Regions from separate parts of the Homo sapiens genome. Here region 2 is linked to region 1. The links are contacts of gene promoters, found by promoter capture Hi-C in blood cells and fetal thymus (Javierre and others, 2016). All regions are on one chromosome and are shown on one strand. The core of a region is centred on a gene start or on the middle of the fragment in contact, and the rest is flanking DNA. Distances in the headings are between cores, read along the strand shown.

Region 1 (2,712 bases), core at 158-2,657:
CCAGCACTAGACTGCGCTCCTAGCACCGCGCCTTCTTCCGGAGCCTCCTCCCCCGGGCTGGCTAGGGGTGAGCGCAGGGGTTAGTCAGTACGCACGTGACGCGCGATGCCCACATGACACGACCGTGAGCGGGGGAGGGGGACACGGAGTGAAGAAGGGGAAAAGTTACAGAAGACCCGTCAAAGCGCCCAAAGCAATTTGTCCCTTCTTTTCTTCGCCAGCGGTGGCTCACGGATCCCTAAGGGACAGCTGGGGACCCAGGCGCCCCCAGCCCAGCCCCAGAAACGCTGGACGCAGTTCTCCGCTCACCCCACCACCTTCTCTTCCCAGACCCGCTGGTGATGCCGCTGCACCCTGAAGTTGCTCCTTCCTTCTTTCCCTCCCTTCCTCCCATTCTTTCTTTCTTTTCTTCCTTCCTCCCTTCCCCAAAAGCTCTTCATCCGCTTCGGGTGATGCCACTGACGCACATTCAATTTGCCCCAGCAGCTCTGAGGAGGTCAGACCAGGCCGAGCACCTTCCAAAGGGGAGGGTCTAACTGAGCAAACAAAGTTGCACGCCACACCACAACCTGCCCCTCCCCTCCCTTTAGCCCCCAAGTCGAATCCCCGGCGAAACTCACTTGCACTGCGGGTGCTCTCTGGCCCCCACCCCATCATCGCGCAACACACCCCCTTCAACATGCGCGGCCACCCTTTCATTGCCCTGCGCCCCGAGCGGTCCCACCGCCCGGCAAAACACTGAGCAAGCCGCTGCTCTCACCTTGCTTGACACACTTGAGCCGGAGGGGGTCCTTGCAGTGTTTGATCACGGCCAGCACGTCCCTGATGGTGAGCCCCGCCACGGGGGTCTCGTTCACCTCCAGCAGCAGCTCCTCCGACACCAATTTGCTGCCGCTCTCATAGGCCACCTTGCCGGGCTTCACCTCCCCCAGGTAGGGGAACTGTCCATTCTCGGCGCCCCCCTTCAGTTCAAAGCCCAGCTGGCCCTCCGGGTTCCTGCCAATGACACTCTCATGGACTTTGCTAGTCCAGTGGCTTTTCTTTTTCAAGCTTTTGGACATGGCAGTGGGGCGAGTCGCCTCAGTTCCTGGGCTCCTTGGGGTTAGGGGGGCTGGTGGTGAGAGAATGAGGATGGAGGAGCAAGGGGGCCCAGGGGGAAGAACAGCAGACTTTGCCTTCGCCCCCCTCTATTCGGTGCTTTCCCTCTTCTTTGGATGGAGTGTGGACGAGGAATGGGGAGGATGAGAGGGACGGCTGGGCAGAGGTAGGAGAGCTTGGATGAGGTTGTGCTGTCCCTTGAATGACACTCAAGGCTGTGGCCCCGCAGCAGAGGAAGCAGTGGTGGTGGCGTCGGCGGCGGCGGCGGCGGCAGCCGGAGCGAGCAGTAGCCGAGCTGGTGAGCGGGTGTGGTGGGGGTGGGGAAGGAGGGTAGGGATGCCGGGGGCCACTCCTGCGTGGTGCGAGTGGGAACGCGCGCGCGCGCCTGGGTGTGTGTTGTTAGCTGATATCCATGGCAGCTGCAGTGGCAGGGTGCGTGTGCGTGTGTGTGTGTGTGTGTGTGTGTACTAGTTCTACTGTACTGGCAGACGGGAGGAGGCAGGGGAGGAGGGGCGCGCGCGCCGGGTGGGGAGCCACGGAGGGCTTCGCCGCTGCCTCCCTCCCTCCCTCCGCAGCTTGACCCGGTAGTGAAGGCAGAGAGAGAGGCAGGCTGGGTCCGCCTGGCAGCCTACGGGAGGAGGCGGGAGCCGGGAAGGAGGGGAGCCTAGGCCCGGCGTGGGGAGGCCGGCAGGAAGGGCCTCGAGCCCAGTGCGGACCTTTCTTCAGCCTCTGTGCGACCGAGCCGCGCGCCAGGCTCCTGTGCGAGGAGGACGCGCTGACTCCCTCCGACCTGGGCTCCGATGGAGCAGAAATAGCGGGACCTGGACTTGTGGCGCGCCTGGTGCCACATCTCGGGCTCTGCGAGCGTCCTGGCGCGGGATCCTGCCGTGAGAAGGAGTTGGGGCGGGGGACCCGGCGGGGCATTGCGGGAGAAGGCCTGGGATCCCTGGGAGCCTTGTAGCGTGGGGGAGTTCACTGTGTAGAGAGGTTTCATGTCTTCATCTATATAGTCACTTATTTGTCTTAAAGTTCTCGAAATTCCCTCTTAGAGAAGGAGAAAGTTAGAGAACTGGAGGCTGCGTACCCTGATTACGCAGAAGGGAAGCAGCCTCGCATTCCCCGGGGCAGGCCCCCGCCCGCGCGTCCCGCCAGTAGGGGAATTTAGCGGACGGCTGCGGTTGTCTGGTGAAAGGCTATCCAAGGATAAGGGGCTTCACTTTTCCCAAGTAGGGGAAAGAGAAGGGGTCTACAGGGCTAGGGGTGGAGGGAGCGGATGCAGTGAGCAGCCTCCGCAGAGAAATTGACAATTTAACCAGGGACCTGCGGCAGAGACAAGGCGGAGACACTCCCTTGCCCAGGAAAGCCGCCAGAGTCCGGCTTGTACCTGGGGAAGAATCCTTAAGACGGTCTGGCCCAACACTCCTTTGCTCACAGAGAAAGGGGAGAAGACTCCCGAGGGTGAAAATGGTACATTCGGAGCTGGAACTCAGCTCGCTGACCCCAAGCAGTGTTCCCTTCTTTTCGCCAGGTTTGCATCCAAGAGAGGGGAGGACAGGGGCAAAAGGATGCAGGGAGGCTGCTGATTTCCACTGAAGAGCTAATTTCCTGTGAGAC
Region 2 (2,712 bases), core at 137-2,636, 560 kb after region 1:
ATTTGTATAGAATATCTGTCCATTCTTTCGATTTCAGTTTGTGTCCTTAGAGGTGAACTGAGCTCCTTGTAGGCAGCATATAGTTGGGTCTTTCTATTTTTATCAGTTCAGCCACTTGATGTCTTTTGATTACAAAATTTAATCAATTTACATTCAGATGAATTATTTAGGTAAAGACTTATTGTTTCCATTGTGTTAACTGTTTTCTAATTAATTTGTAGATTATTTGTTCTTCTCTTCTTCTTTTGCTGTCTTTCTTTCTGGTTTGATGATTTTCCATAGTGGTGTGCCTTGAATCCTCTCTTTTTATCTTCTATGTACCTACTAAGAGTTTTTACTTTGTGCTTACATGAAACACATAAAATATATTACACTATTAACAGACTATTTTAAGCTGATAACAACTTTACTTTTATTTGCACAAACTCTACACCTTTACTTCCCCCAACATACAATTTGTTTTTGTATCTTTTAAAGTCTGTGTTTCTTAACAAATTATTTGTTTGATTATGTGGTTACTTTTACCAGTGAGTTTTATATTTTCGTATTGCTACTAAGTGGCATTTTCCTTCAGTTTCCAGAACTCTTTTTAGCATTTTTTGTAAGGCAGGTCTAGCAGTGATAAATTTCCTCAGCTTTTGTTTGTCTGAGGAAGTGTTTATTCTTCACTTTTGAAGAGCAAGATTGCTGAGTGTAGTGTTCTTGGTTAACAGGTTTCTTTTTCTTTCAGCTTTTGAAACATATCATTGAATTCCTTCTGGCCTACTAGGTTTCTGTTGAAAAATGTTGATAGTCTCTTGGAGAGTTCTCCATGTACATAACAATACACTTTTCCCTTGCAGGTTTCAATATTCTCTATTTTTCCTTAATTTTTGAAAATTTGATTTCTGGTGAGATCCATCCACTTGATCAAAACATGGTGGAGAAAGCTAAAGGAGAAGCAGACATGTGCAAAGCGGCAAAACCTAATGGGCATCCTGCTTTGTAACAACTCACTTTTGCAGTAACAAATCCATTTCTGCGGAAGCTCATCTAGTCTTATGAGAGCAAGAACTGACTCACTGCCAGGGAAAATGAAACTAAAGCTTTTATAAGGGATCAGCCCACAAGACTCAAAGACCTCCCACTAGGTACCACCTCCTAATGCTCTCACATTGAGGATCAAATTTCAACATGAGTTTTAGTGAGAACAAAGTATATCCAAATCACAGCATGCTATAAATATTTTTAAATATTTTATCTCATTGGAGTTTTTAGGGAAAAACCAGAAGGAAATAAACATTACCAAAATGTACTTTACTCATACTATTTCGTTTGTTTCATATTTACTTTCAAATTTCAGTAGTTAAAAACTTTTTACTGGCAAAAGTACCACATAACAAAAAGCAAAGTTATTACACTGCACTAGTTGTTATTTACGTTTAGTAAGAGATAGCTCAGGTGAATAAGGTTCTGCTAAAATAGTGAGGAGACTTTAAGATAATTCAAAACTATTCATGTTATTGGTTGTGCTCTCTAAGCAAAGCAAATAAATCTCATTCTAAACTTAGAAAAGCAATATTACAATTCCCTTTATCTTTTTGCCTTTTCCCTATCAAATTTCAGCATTACAGTTCTCATAAATACTTCTGAAGTCTTTCTTTTATTTACTGTGTTTAACACAGGAAAAGAGAATTTAAAATCACTAATAAGCTTTTCTGTGTGTTCCTAAGTAATTTTTAATCTCTTTGGTATTTTCTTTCATTTGATGATTTAAACTAACCTATTGATAAAGGCTACCATTTGTAGTATGTGTTTATGTGTATAAGAATATTATGAACCTTTAAAATTTTTCTATTTCTAATCATCAAACATATAATAACTCTTTTTTTTCTTTTTTGAGACGGAGTCTTGCTCTGTCACCCAGGCTGGAGTGCACTGGCGCGACCTATGCTTACTGTAACCTCTACCTTCTGGGTTCAAGCAATTCTCCCTGCCTCAGCCTCCTGAGTAGCTGAGATTTCAAGCACCCGCCACCATCCTCAGCTAAGTTTTGTATTTTTAGTAGAGATGGGGTTTCGCCATGTTGGCCAGGCTGGTCTCAAACTCTTGGCCTTAGGTGATTTGCCACCTTGGCCTCCCGAAGTGCTGGAATAACAGGTGTGAGCCACCATGCCTGGCCATAATAAGTTTTGCCCAGGGTTTAACTTCAATATAAAACCCGTTTCCTTACCAAATTGTTTTCAGAAATAGATTCAAGATAATAATACACCTTCATGAGCAACGTTTAATTTAAGACTAAGACTGATTTGGGGGGCAGCATTGAATTGTTGATAAGGGAAAGTGGTGATGGAATTGGAAGAGCAGCATGGGAGATTTGTTGGGAAGGGCCTTTTTTTGGCTTACCCAGAATATGCCAGAATGACAGTTTCTACGACCATTGAAAAGAGAATATTGAAACCAACCAAGAAACTCTGAAGATCTCAATGCTTATATTACAATGTCAGCCCTGACACTCACTGACATATTGTTAGCATTCAGGATATCTAGCAAAGATGTGCTAACTTTTCATCCCAGTCTATTCTAAGGATCCGTAAGTAGCTAGTAAATATAATGCTTTAAGAGCATTTTTCCCAAGGAATATCCCACAGTATCTTCATAAATATTCACTTGGTATTCCTTCAAAATTAGTTTCTCAGCAAGATTTCTGCTTCCTTTTTAGCAAATATATTT

The links. Contacts are between HindIII fragments. The CHiCAGO score rates a contact against its expected background, and 5 or more counts as called.
Region 2: a contact is called between a fragment that was not itself captured here and the fragment with the promoter of MAGI2 in region 1, in 1 of 17 cell types (megakaryocytes). The highest score is 6.8, in megakaryocytes.

Annotation. Positions count from the first base shown.
Region 1 is chr7:79,452,260-79,454,971 of GRCh38, forward strand. It overlaps MAGI2 (membrane associated guanylate kinase, WW and PDZ domain containing 2), which reads right to left and starts at 1,408. Exons shown (of 22, transcript NM_012301.4): 1 at 761-1,408. The coding sequence starts at 1,061. MAGI2-AS3 (MAGI2 antisense RNA 3) reads left to right here and starts at 698. Exons shown (of 4, transcript NR_038346.1): 1 at 698-932; 2 at 1,328-1,396. RefSeq lists an enhancer at 1-148. The HindIII fragment of the contact is 2,254 bases long and covers 1,049-2,712 here.
Region 2 is chr7:80,013,617-80,016,328 of GRCh38, forward strand. No RefSeq gene overlaps it. Among named protein-coding and RNA genes, the nearest start is that of GNAI1, 120 kb to the right of the region's middle. The HindIII fragment of the contact is 607 bases long and covers 1,084-1,690 here.